3 separate regions of the Homo sapiens genome follow, and regions 1 and 2 are each linked to region 3. Evidence: promoter capture Hi-C in human tissues and cell types (Jung and others, 2019). All regions are on one chromosome and are shown on one strand. Each heading gives the region's core, a stretch centred on a gene start or on the middle of the fragment in contact. The rest is flanking DNA. Distances are from core to core; before and after follow the strand shown. Region 1 holds the start of BSPRY (B-box and SPRY domain containing). Region 2 holds the start of TXN (thioredoxin). Region 3 has its middle 15 kb from the start of PTGR1.

Region 1 (4,409 bases), core at 1-2,500, 1.7 Mb before region 3:
AACAGGTAGGACGAACCAGGAGCTTTTGGGTGTTGCTGAAAAACTGAACCCCTCCCGAGCCCAGCACCCTATATAAGATGTGTTTATTACAGGTCACTCTGGGTAGGCGAAGTCCCCAGCCAGAGCCCTCAGGCTTCACAGCAGGGGTGAACTGCAGAGTCGGGTTGGGAGAAACAAGCTGTTTAATCAAATTGCAAGGAAATCCCCAGGGGCCACAGAGAAGCCCAAGGTGACTTCGACTCTCCCAATCTCAGCAGCTCAGGAGAATGGTGATGACAAGGAGGTGGCCACCCTGGAGCCGAGCTGGAAGTGGAGGTGGCGAGAAAGCCTGGGTGAAGGGGAATCCCCTGATATTCTCCCTACCCCCACCGTTTATCCAGCTGAAGCCCTTAAACCAGCCTGAAGTACAGTCAAGGCCAATCCTGAAAGCGAAAAAGAGATCACCGCACCAGAAGCCAGAAGGGGTTAGGAGCAGGGGGAAGAGGCGAAAGGAGGAGGGGGGCTTTGAGTCCAGGGGTTAAGGGATACGGTCGCGCTGGATTTTATCAGTGTCAGTTTCCACAGGGGCGGGAGCTGGGGCACACCCTGCGCTGAGAACTGGAGCAGCTGAGCCTTTCATGCCAGCCCCAGCTTCCTCAACAGAGCAATGGAAGGGGCCTGGGGAGCCTGGATCCCCTTATCGCTAAGCATTTTACCCACTATCTTATTTATTTCTCACAACTCTAATAAATACGCGCTATTATTATTGTTGTTGTCCCCAAACTACAGATGAAGACACTGAGGCTCAGAGTTACGTGACTCACAGGGAGTAGATTCGAACTCAGGCCAGCCTGACTTCAGAGGCCACACCCTTAACCGCCTAGTCCTACAGCCAAAGCCACCGAGGAGCCTAGGCTCCGGGGCCGGGTGTCGAGTCCGCCCAGCCCCAGGCTCCCCAGTCCCTGCCGGGTCCCGCCAGGCGCGCCCGGGGTCTCCGGAGCCCTCGCCTTCCGGCGCCCACACCCGCTCACCCGCAGCTCCTCGGCGCGCTCCTCCGCCCGGCGGATGCGGTGCCCCCGGCAGCGACCGCCCAACCCCGCGCAGGCGGCGCACACGGGCCGTCGCTCGGAGCCGCAGAACCAGCTCAGAGCCTGGCCGTGTTCGGGGCAGAGTGGCCCCGGCCCGGGCCCGGACCCGGACCCCGGCCCCGGCTCCGCGCCCTCGGCGGACATGGCCGTGCGCCCGCCCCGTGCGCTCCACCTGTCGCAGGTGGCGGCGGGCGGGGCCTGGCTGACCCCGCCCCCGGCCCTCCCGGTGCGCCAGCGCGCCCCGCAGCTGCGCCTCCTCCCACCCAACCCGCGCTCCCATCCCGCCCGGGGCAGCAGGTCTCTTTAAATTCCTTGTTGAATGAAATCGCGATTGTATGCGTATTTGTTCTACAACAAACATAAAACTCCAAATATTACTGTGACCGTAGGAAACTTTATTGAGCACTTATTAAGTGCCAGGCTTTCGCTGAGAGCTTTGCAAGCGTTCTGTTATGTAATCCCGACCACTGCCCTTTTTGAGAGGCAGCTTTAGATGCCTAGCTTCAAGCAAGGCTCTGCTGAGAAACTGCCTGGTTCAAATCCCGTTTGGCTGCTCACTGGGTGGGAACTCCAGCTGTAAAATGGGGTGAGAGTACCTGCCTCCCAGACGTCTGAGGAGTAAATACGCTAAATACGTAAAACAATATCTGGAACATAGCAGCTGCAATCGCTAAGTGTCTACTAACAGTGCGAGGAAAGTACTATTAGGATCCCATTTTTATGGAAGTTAAGTGGCTTGCCAAGGGTCACAGTTACTAATTGGTAGCTATGAGATTGGAACCTAGGCAGTGTGACTTAAGGTTACTATAATTAATAATTTTTTAAATTGAACATTGAGGCCCAGTGAGAAATATCTGTATTAGGCTGATTTTCCCAAAGTATTTACATCCAAACTTTTTGAATTTGAATATTTGAGTTTTCTTTTTAAACTAGCATTGAAAAAAAGTAATGCCTTTTTATTTCGAAGAAAACAAAATATGCAAATAAGCATGTGGAAGAAAAATCCACCCACTCCCACCCCAGAAAGAAAAACTGCTAACATGTTCCTGAGCTGTTTAGGGCTTTTCCCACCCTCAGGATCTTATATATTAGTCTGAGCCCAGATTGAGCCCTCTGCTGGGGATCCAGTCTAGTCTGTCTGGGCATACAAGGAGAACGCTGCTCTCCAGCTCTAAATTCTTCTTCTTCTTTTTTTTTTTTATTTTTTTTTATTTTTTTGAGATAGGGTCTCACTGTGTCACCCTGGCTGGAGTGCAGTGGTGTAATCATAGCTCACTGCAGCCTCGACCTCCCCAGCTCAAGTGATCCTCCCACCTCAGCCTCCTGAGTAGCTGGGACTACAGGCACATGCCACCGTGCCCAGCTAAGTTTTGTATTTTTCGTAGAGACAGGGTTTTGCCATGTTGCCCAGGCTGATCTCAAACTCCTGGGCTCAAGCCATCTCCCCCCTTCAGCCTCCCAAAGTGCTGGGATTACAGGTGTGAGCCACCGCGCCCGGCCACCAACCCCAAATTCTTTCTTAGGAGTCTTGGCAGAAAGCTGGGCACTCTCTCAAAAGGGGAAGGGCCCAGGCCTTCAGGTGTCAGAGAGTACTCTGAGTGCATCAGAACTGAACACAGGCGGGAGCTAAACCGAAAGAGAAACATTACATCCCATAGCTCACAGGGGCTCTAGCACCTCTACTCTGAAGCTTCTCTAAGCAATGGCCACACAAAGGAGATAGAACCCTTTCCTTCTCAGCCACTACTGCTTTAGCACCTGAGGGGTAAGGGCAGCTAACAGCCCCAGAGCTACCCAGAGCGGTACACAGTGGTGTCATCATCCAATGGGGACACATTGTCACCCCAGATAGACAATATTACACCATATGATTAGAGAGAACACTGAGTGAAATATAGTCATTGGTTTCATCCCAGCTATGCAGCTTACAGCTATGGGATCTTGGTCAGGTTACTCACAGCTTCTGTGTCTGTTTTCTTATCTCTACAACAGAGGTGATAATAATACTATCATCTACCTTAGAGGGCTACTTCAAGAATGAAATGAGATCTTGTCTACAAAGTATTTACTTTGGGTGTCTGATATACAGTAGGGGATAATAAAAGGTTTTATTATATGTGTGAGGATCTGTAAATACAGTTGTAGCAGGTTTCAGAATGTAAATTGTGTGAGGTTCTTTGGCGACAGGGGTGCTGCTTTCCTGGCATCTAAAGAAGTTTCCAGTGCATCCCAGTGGGAGGGTGATGGCCTCATAACAGCATCTACACTCCTCTGGGGGTGGGGAGGGAAATAGGCCATGGTAATTAGAGATTGTGGTTAGAATTTTTTCCTTCTAAGGACTGGGGATGGGGAATTATTAAACCCTATGGTGAAAACAAAGAAAATAGGAGGTGCTTTTTGTGTGAAGGCTAAAAAGAAAAGAGGTTGTGTGGCCAGGAGCAGTGGCTCATGCCTGTAATCCCAGCACTTTGGAAGGCTGAGGCAGGCGGATCACTTGAGGAGTTCGAGACCAGTCTGGCCATCATGGTGAAACCCCGTCTCTACTAAAAGCACAAAAATTAGCCGGGCATGGTGGTGCACACCTGTAATCCTAGCTGCTGGGGAGGCTGAGGCATGAGAATCGCTTGAACCCAGGAGGTGGAGGTTGCAGTGAGCTGAGATCGCGCCACTGCACTCCAGCCTGGACAACAGAGCAACACTCTGTTTCAAAAAAAAAAAAAAAGAAAGAAAGAAAGAAAAGAAAAGAAAAGAAAGAAAAGAGGTTGTGGAGGGCAGGGGGAGGAACAAGGGTTAAAATCCTTAGGGAAAGGTGGGGGGGGGGGAGGGGGGCCTTCACTGGGTGTGGCCCTAGAGCAGTCATTGGCCCTACCAGGTCCAGGATCTGGAAAACAGCCCCTAAATCACCAGAATTACTTTCAGGTAGTGGCATCAGCAAATGCAAAGGGCTAAGGTAGGAGTAGATTTACTTTTATCAAGTCGGGTTCCTCTGTTTCACCACTTATGAGCCAAGTTGGACTGGAACTGGAGAATCGCCCTTTCCCTATCTGTTCATCAAGCCCTGCAGGACACATCTGGGATACTCATAAACTCCCCGGTTATAGCTCTTAAGCTTTATCAGGCTTCGGAATCGTTGGAGGACAGGGGATGGTCAGGAGGGGAAAGAGGAGGAGTTGTAAAACACGCAGACTTTCCGGTAAGATTTTCATCCATTAAGTCTGGGATGAAGCCAAGAAGCTGCATCTGTGGCAGTCACTCCTTGACTAGGATGCAAAGGAGCCCCTTGACTGTTTCTAGAAACACTGCCCTAAGGCAGTGGCAACCCTTTATTAGGTGGCATATCAA
Region 2 (4,453 bases), core at 1,738-4,237, 1.4 Mb after region 3:
TGTCTGGGTGTGGTCCAGGAATGTGCAGTATCATCGAGCACCTTTGGCTATGATGAATTAGGTGGTCAAGAACCACTCAGAGACACGTGGGATGTGAGAAAAACTTGTTTCAGAAATCCTACAATTACATTTTCTTCAAATTCGAGTTGAGACCCAAACAAAGACAGCTGACCCAGTTCTCCAGTCCCATGTGGAGGCTGGACTCAGCTGACCCAGGCCTGAAGCAGGCCCATCACCCTTGTTACATGTTTCCGCCCTTCTGGGTGACATAAAAATATCATTTTTGCTGGTCCGGCAGCAATCTCCCCTTTTCTGGTAACCCCCTGGATTTTCCCTACTCTTAGTGCAAAGCTTCAAGCAAGGCTAATCCCTTTCCCCACCATGAAAGTGAAGGTCAGCCTCTCAGACATTTATAAGAACAAGGAAGAGGAACACTCTTCCTGTAGAGATACTAAACTAGTAAGAACCTAAGTCTGGAGCTGCCTACTCCACTCTTACATAGAGTGCCTACTTGAGAATGAAACTAAGAGAGATGGTGCCCTTTGACATCATTAGGCCCCTGGGGTTCTTGCTAATCTGAGTTACTAATTCTCTTTTTGCTTTACGTCAGTTTGAGCTAGAATTTCTCCTTGCAACTGAAAATTCTGACTAACACACAGAGCCTCTACATTTCTCTGCACAAATGAACGCTTCCTCTCTGGGCAGTCCCAAATAATTCCCCTGTACCTCACTCTCCTCAAAGAACGTCACCTCCTTGCCACAAATGCAGGGAACCTGCTCCTTGGGACCAGGTGCAGCCCACTTTTCTTTCTTCCTTGCAGGGAAAAAAAAGGCCTTTTCCTTTGAGGCTTATGTTACGGAGCTCACTGTTCATTACTACTGTCTTCATTACTTAATTCATTTAAGACTGACACCTGTTTTATAATCTCTCCTTCCACCCTAGCTCTGCCATCATTCCAGATGGATCTCATCATTCATTTAATAGCCTATAATCATAGTTCATGTAGCATTCACTACACACCAGGCACGGTTCTAAGCATTTTACATATATTTTAGTTCACTCAACCCTTATAATAGCACAAGCTATTATTACGCCCACTTCTCACATAAGGAAACTGAGGCACAAAAAGGCTATTTAGACTTGCCTAGAGTTACCCAGTCATGAAGTGGTAGAGTAGGGATGAGGACAACGGAGTCAAATTGCAGAGTCCAGACTGGCCTCCCAGTTCCTTATAACTGTACCATCCTCCACATCTACTCTGCATTGGTGCTGTGGAGGTGGGAGAGAGGGAGTACCTCCTTCACTGAGTCACTGGACATTTGGAAGGTCTTTGGAGAGAAGTCAGCTGAGGATGGCCTGCATTGCCCCTTCCTGGAACTCAATGATTTGTTGTTATCACCCATGCAAATTCACCAACAAACAGATAAAAGTCAGGAAGCTGGGATGCAGCTGAACTGAAAACCCAGCAGCAGAAAAGCAGGTTATAGATTCTGCTCTGGGTGCTCCATACAGCTCCTTCCTCTCTGCCCCAATAACCTCCCTCTCTTTGGGAACATTGCTGCATTCAGGGCAGTCTGTCTTCCCTCCCTATGGGCTGTCTTTAGAATGTGTCCCTTGCCTATATCCATATTCATGCTCCGTGCTCCTCAGCCCCCTAGAAACTTTGCACAATAGATTCAAAACCTCTGGTTTCCTCCCTTCCTCTGTCTGAAAGAGTGAAAGAAGGAAGCCAGGGATTTCAGGGGGCAGCCAGGCAGCAGTATCACCACCCCTAGGCAATCACACCTAGTTGCAGCTTCATCGGGAACAGCTCAGCTCTGAAAACACAGACCTGGGACTCTCCCTCCCAGCCTTCTAGCTCTCGTTCCTGTGAGCAGCTTTTCAACCTCCACTTCCAGCCGCTGACAGGCCCTCCTGGCTCCACAAGGCCAGCTAACATACCCACCTTCCACAATCCCCAGCCCTGCCAGACATAACCTGCAACAGGCATTCCTGGATCAATGCAAACTCCGACTTCTGTTCCAGGAGTCTGCCTCTGTTAGAAGAATCTCACACAAGTGTGCGTGCTGTGCCATTGTAAATGCTGTATAAGGTGGCCAGGCCCAATCAGTCCCTGCAAGACACCGAACAGTAAGAACTATCTATGGAGTGTTTACTATGTGCCAAGCACCGTCCTTTGCAAGCACTATTAACCCTCAAAATACCACCACCGTGAGATTGAGACCATCATGATTCCCGTTCTACAGAAGGAAACACTGAGACTTCAGGAGGTCAGGACCTTTCCAGGGTCACAACTGCGTAACTAAGTTGCAGAGCTCAACCCAGTGGCACTTCCATCTCACACGCAGCTGTCTGATGGTCAAGAGCCCAACCAGTCCCCCGGTCGTTTCTACCGCACTAAACCGCTGTGTCAAGCTGGAGCAGCGGGCTCAGCAGTGAAAATGAAAGAACAGAAGGAGGTTACAGAGAAGAGAACGGTCACGGTAAATTCCGGAGAGGAGGCAAGGACGTACACACCGAGATACTTCCCGGTCACCGTTACTCAGCACTTTGTGGGGTTCACGTGGCTGGGGGGGCCGGGGCGTGGCGGCCCTTTTCGAGGAATCCAGCCCTGCCTGGGCGGTCCCCATCTCGAGCGTGGGCGTGTTCGATTCAGGCCCGGCGGACGCATCCCCAGGTGACCCGGGAGGGACCTTGTGTCTCTGGGGGTGACTGTCCGTCTCCCCGCCTCCCACCGTCACGCGCAGTGCTGATCCCCACTTCCAGCTGGAGTGCGAGCTGGGCTTGGGGTTACAGGAGCCGAAGCCCTGGAGCTCCGCCCCACGCTTGCGCCAGCCCCGCCCCGATCCCGGCTCGCAGGCTCCAGGGGCGGGGCGTGGCCGGGGCGCAGCGACGGGCGCGGAGGTCCGGCCGGGCGCGCGCGCCCCCGCCACACGCACGCCGGGCGTGCCAGTTTATAAAGGGAGAGAGCAAGCAGCGAGTCTTGAAGCTCTGTTTGGTGCTTTGGATCCATTTCCATCGGTCCTTACAGCCGCTCGTCAGACTCCAGCAGCCAAGATGGTGAAGCAGATCGAGAGCAAGGTACGCGCTACCGGGGAAGGCCAGGGTGCCGGCGCCGCGCGCGGCCTCTGTAACTGGGGAAGGCGGTGGCGGGAGGTGGGGAAGGCGGTGGCGGGAGGTGCGGAGGCCGCCCCTCCGCATCGCCAGGGGAAAGGGACGCGGCGTCTCGGCCTGGGACTGCGGGAAGCAGCGGCCTGGGCGCGCCCGAGGCGGTGGAGCCTGCCCTGGAGGAAGGGAGGAGAAGGACGAGGGTCCCCTGGAGGGCGGAGTGGCGGTGCCCAGCGTTTCTCGCACCCTGTTCCTCGGGGGATTGCACGCACGCGGGGAGCGTCCGGGGGATGTGAGAGCGCAGACAGCGTGAGGAGTCCCCACGCTGCGCCTCCTGCACCCTCCCGTCCGGGCAGCCCCGACTGGAGGAAGATGAGGGAATGGAAGGGGTCCGCCCTTGGCCCCCCATCTGTATCCAGATTCAGGCCCCAGGCAAGGATAGGGAGGGCCCTTGCAGAAGGCACGGGTCGGTGGCCGCCGCTGCCTTTCCGTATGTGAAGTGATCCACCCGCAGCGGGGGTAGTGATCTCCCTTTGGGAGCGGGTCTAGGCCGGAGACCCCCGCCTGCCTCCACCCATGCCCGACCCCAAAGGTGACGCGTGCTGTATCCGCACTAAGGGGGCGGATTGCGGCTGGAGACCCCCTGGCACGTGCAGGTCTGTCCAGGAGGCCCGAGGGCCCCAGGTGACCGCGAGGAAGTGAGGTCCGGGCCGCGCCCACGGGACTCCTGTGGCGCAGGGCGCGTTTCCGGCAGCAGTGGCTTTGGAATGACTGAGTCCCCAAGGTTGGGCCCGGGGGCCTCGGCTGCCCTGCCCGTCCATGATTCACCCTCAGTCGGTGGGTTTTGCTGGAGCCAGGGTTCCTCCTGGGAGCAGCCGCGCCCTGCTGCCTGCTCGCCGACCTATCGGTATCCCGATCGTTGTTTTGTCCTCTTAAAAATGCCCAAGGCGAAACAGCCTTCCCATGTTTGAAAGTTATTGCAAGCCTAAAACCTTGTAGACTGGGAAACCCAGAGCCTAACGCGCAGTGTCTAGTCCAATGTAGCCACTCCAGAAATATTTGTTAAATGCAGCGTCAGAAAAGTGAGTGGAGGAAATTGATACTGCTCGAACGGTAGAAGACCCCTCGCCAGCGCCTACCCTGCGATTACCCCTCCCTACCTGCGGGAAGCAGAGGAGGGCGGGTCCTCGCCCGCCTCGGGTGCCCTGACCTGTTTGGTGCCGGGTGGGCTTCGGAAACAGAAGTGTGTCTGCAATGTGTCCCCGATCCTTTTGTTCCTTTGATTATTATTGACTCTCAGTGTTTTTTCCTCATATGTTGATTGCCACTGTCATCTTTTATCTT
Region 3 (4,473 bases), core at 37-2,536:
TGTGCTCTCTGAAACATGTGCTGTGTCCACTCAGGGTTAAATGGATTAAGGGCGGTGCAAGATGTGCTTTGTTAAACAGATGCTTGAAGGCAGCATGCTCGTTAAGAGTCATCACCACTCCCTAGTCTCAAGTACCCAGAGACACAAACACTGCGGAAGGCCGCAGGGTCCTCTGCCTAGGAAAACCAGAGACCTTTGTTCACTTGTTTATCTGCTGACCTTCCCTCCACTATTGTCCTATGACCCTGCCAAATCCCCCTCTCCGAGAAACACCCAAGAATGATCAATAAAATAAATAAATAAATAAATAAATAAATAAAAAGAAAAACATCATCCAAAGAGCACAAGAGAATTGTAACTCACATTGTGCAATTTTACCATTGTCCTCATATTCAGGATCAAGGATACAGATTGATGGAGAAAAGGTAGTGTCTCACTGGATTAATTCATTGTTGGATGGGAAAGGTGGGAAGCTCAGCTCATGCTTCCACAGCAGATTCTACCCTGACAAAATCTTACTCCAAAATTGGCATTTAAGCACACAAGTGTTATAGCTTCTGGCACTCATTTCATACAGTCTCACCCCAAACACTGCATAATCTGACTCTCATTCTCCTTGACTTTCTATTCCGGAACATCACCTGGCACATTTAACCTGTAGTTCAGGTTCTTCTACCCCCGAGATAGCTCTGCAAAAATCCTAGTTTTAGTATCCGGCTATTTGCAGCCCAGGCTGCATTGCTCTGTTCAATTTGTCCTAGGTCCTCAGCTTCTTTCTTTTTTTAGGTACTCTTTTTTTTTCTTTTAGAATTCTAGGTTGGAGGATGCAGGAGTATAAACTATCTTCCATGTATTCTCTTGCTCCAGTGTTTTCTGAAAGCAATTTTCCTTAGGGAGGTGCCTGGTAAATTCAAAATAGTTACTGTTAGCTTTCTGCCAGAAATATTCATCTTCGAACCTTCTTTTGGTCCACAGCTCTGGTTCTGTGACTACGTATGTCTCTACCACATTCCTCTACTGTGGGAGGAAATTCCTGGGCCCAAACCTCTGTCAGCTTGCATTACTTCCATTCCTTGGCATGATTCTACTAGCAGGTTAGATGTCACAGTGGATATCATAGCTAGGTTGTGCCAGGTTTACAGCCCACCCTCAGTGCCCACCTCCCTGTGTGTCTATGTACATCAGCTGTCCTCCTGAGATGAGAACGACCCACAAGGAAGTGTTAATCTGCAGCTGTGCTTCAGGGACAAATGGTCAAAGAACCAATTACCTCCTCATTTGCAATTGGCTATATTCTTTTTCTTTTGCCCTGCCTTGAATATATTTCTTGAATATAGACCAGTTAGAAGAGCTGCCAAGCTTTAACATATTTAATCCTAACTTCTGTGCATACACCATACAACATTAGAAATTCTGGTGGAAAATTTCCAGGACGAAATTTCTCTTAATGACTTCACTATTGCTAGAGGTTTTACTGATGTACAGAAGAGTTAACATAGCAAGCCTGATTGCGATGTTGGCCTTGGGCTGGTGTCTGGGAACTTGGATTTGAAGCGTGTCCCCACCATTCCCTAACTGACAAGGGTGGCCCATTCTGCCTAGACTATACAAACAGTGTGGTTTATGCTGAACACCTGCCTTCCTTTGGGGGGTCTGGAATTTTGGTACACGCTAGGCAGAGGGTGCCTTATGTGACTAGACCCTAGTAAAACTTTGGATGTTGAGACTCTAATGGGTTTCCCTCTAATAAGCAGAAACATTGAATGCTTACTGCTGGGGAAATATATTTTCATTGCTGAAGGAAGAGTGCACTGTGCAATTCCTCGTGGAGGGAGGGGGCAGTAGGATGCCTGCCCATGGATTTCCCCAGGCTCCACCTGAGTCTTTCTCCCTCCTCATTACATTGCCGTAATAAACCTTAGCCATGAATACAACTATAGTCTGGGTCCCGTGAGCCCTTCCAGTGACTCTCCAAACATAAGGTATCCTTGGGCACCCTCCACATGAGTAATTAGATTGACGAATCCCAATGTCTCCGATAGGGTCGAAGTCACTGGTGCCATCTCCCATCTATGTAACAAAGCTACTCAGTATGTCACAGAGAGTTTAATGAAGCCACTTGTTTAAGTTCTTACTTTTTTCTTTGTTGGTGTCCCCCTGAGCTGGAACTTGGGCATGAGCCCAAGAGTCTGGGCTGAAGTAAGATACAAGTAACCAACACTGAGCTGAGCACTCACTTTTCCCCTTGATCTTGAACCACTTACTGTCTTTGTGCATCTTAACTCTCTTCCATACAAAGCATTCCTTTCCTACAAAATTTCTCTGCCTCTCATATAAATATTTAAAAATTATTGGCCGGGTGCGGTGTCTCATGCCTGTAATCCCAGCACTTTGGGAGGCCGAGGCAGGTGGATCATGAGGTCGGGAGATCGAGACCATCCTGGCTAATACGGTGAAACCCCGTCTCTACCAAAAATACAAAAAAATTAGCCGGGCAAGGTGGTGGGCACCTGTAGTCCCAGCTACTCGAGAGGCTGAGGCAGGAGAATGGCATGAATCCGGTAGGTGGAGCTTGTGGTGAGCCAAGATCGCGCCACTGTACTCCAGCCTGGGCAGCAGAGTAAGACTCCATCTCAAAAAACAAAAAACAAAAAAACACAATTATTATTGTTAGGCTGGGTGTAGTGGCTCACACCTGTAATCCCAGCCCTTTGGAAGGCAGAGGCAGGTGGATCACTTTGAGCTCAGGAGTTCAAGACCAGCCTGGGCAACATGGCAAGACCACATCTCTACTAAAAATACAAAAATTAGCTGAGCTTGGTGGTGCGCACCTGTGGTCCCAGCTACTCAGGAGGCTGAGGCTGGAGAATTATTTGAACCTGGGAGGCAGAGGTTGCAGTGAGCTGAGATCATGCCACTGTACACCAGCCTAGGCGACAGAGTGAGGCCCTGTCTCAAAAAAAAAAATATATATATATATATATACATATATATAAAATTATTATTATTTTGGAGACAGAGTCTTACTCTGTCACCTGGGCTGAGGTACAGTGGTGTGATCATAGCTTTCTGCAGCCTCCAACTCCTGGGTTCAAGCAATCCTTCTGCTTCAGCCTCCTGAGTATCTATGACTACAGGCATGCACCACCATGCCCCACTCATTTTTTTTTTAAGTTTAGTAGAGATGGGGTCTCATTATATTGCCCAGGCTTGTTTTCAGATTCTTTTGAATGAAAAAATTAGGACACCACTGAGAGTTGCTAAAAAGTTCCTCCTAAGCGCCACCAGATGGATGCATCTGGTTATAAATCCAGGTAAGTAATCCAAATCAGCAGGTCCTACTCACCCTTACCCTTCCCACATAATTCACAAACCAAGGTAATAAGACCTCAAATAAGGAATGACGCCTGTTTCACAGTTCAGCATGACCAACAGCTGATATCTAAACAATGCCCCCAAGCTGGCAAGTAAAACCCAAACATAACCCAAAGCCATCTGTGGGTGGCTCCTCTGCCCTTCCGAGGTCTGATTAAATTGGAACAAATCCAAGTTCTATGTTCCATGATAGTCCAAAGTTCTCCCACAATGCCTGTGAGCTCCCTGGGCTTGCCTCCTCCTGCGTCCTGCTAGCTATTTTTAAATGTGAGCTCTATTTTGTTCCAAGATCATTAGGATATTTAGCCCCTTCACCAATTTCCACAAGAAAATTAATTCATTCCAATATTCAGAGGTTCCTTTTTTATTTCTTAGCCAGTGATTAAGGAATCCATTATGTAACCCAGAGCCATTCTCTCTACTCTTTTCTTAATTTTTCCTTCTAAAATGGGGAGTTCCATTTTCTTAATTTTTCATTCTAAATTGGGGAGTTCCAAATTTTTTTTCTCTCTCTCTCTTAGGCAAAGCAGTTCATGTCCTTCCTGGAAGTTTTAGTATCTGCCAGTACTGATGCCCAGTTTGCATTTTAAAAGCTCCTTCTAGCTGCTAGATGCTGAAAAGACTGAAAGGAGGCAAGGGGATAGGCAAAGGGACCAGTATCAGGTTATTTTAGGAGATGATGGTGGCTTGAACCAGGTAGTGGCAAAGCTCGTAAAGACAAGTGCATGAATAGGAATATTTTGGAGGAGATGCTGCAGTACTTGCTTATAGATTGGATTGTAGGTGGGTGTTAAGAGAGAAGAATCCCGGATAACTTGCCCACCTCTGGATTTGGCGCTGGAGGTCCCAATTACTAATGGGGAAGGCTAGGGAGAAGTAGGTTTGAGTGGTGTATAGCTAAGGCTTGGTTCAGTTGCTTGTAACAAAATGTCTGCTATACATAGTAGCTTAAACAAGTAATGGCGGCCAGGTGCGGTGGCTCACGCCTGTAATCCCAGCACTTTGGGAGGCCGAAGCGGGCAGATCACGAGGTCAGGAGATCGAGACCATCCTGGCTACCACGGTGAAACCCTGTATCTACTAAAAATACAAAAAATT

What was found. Contacts are between HindIII fragments. The study calls those that stand out against the background at their distance.
Region 1: the fragment with the promoter of BSPRY here is called in contact with a fragment that was not itself captured in region 3 in 1 of the 25 tissues and cell types used here (spleen).
Region 2: the fragment with the promoter of TXN here is called in contact with a fragment that was not itself captured in region 3 in 1 of the 25 tissues and cell types used here (dorsolateral prefrontal cortex).

The regions. Positions count from the first base shown.
Region 1 is chr9:113,346,382-113,350,790 of GRCh38, reverse strand. BSPRY (B-box and SPRY domain containing) reads right to left here and starts at 1,250. Exons shown (of 6, transcript NM_017688.3): 1 at 1,011-1,250. The coding sequence starts at 1,211. RefSeq lists silencers at 903-1,182, 1,213-1,282. The HindIII fragment of the contact is 5,403 bases long and covers 1-3,467 here.
Region 2 is chr9:110,255,041-110,259,493 of GRCh38, reverse strand. It overlaps TXN (thioredoxin), which reads left to right and starts at 2,987. Exons shown (of 5, transcript NM_003329.4): 1 at 2,987-3,082. The coding sequence starts at 3,059. RefSeq lists enhancers at 2,306-2,355, 2,396-2,595, 1,524-2,723, 3,466-3,795 and silencers at 2,736-2,975, 3,146-3,395. The HindIII fragment of the contact is 8,171 bases long and covers 110-4,453 here.
Region 3 is chr9:111,612,683-111,617,155 of GRCh38, reverse strand. It overlaps the pseudogene LRRC37A5P. Among named protein-coding and RNA genes, the nearest start is that of PTGR1, 15 kb to the right of the region's middle. RefSeq lists an enhancer at 1-385. The HindIII fragment of the contact is 3,634 bases long and covers 1-3,103 here.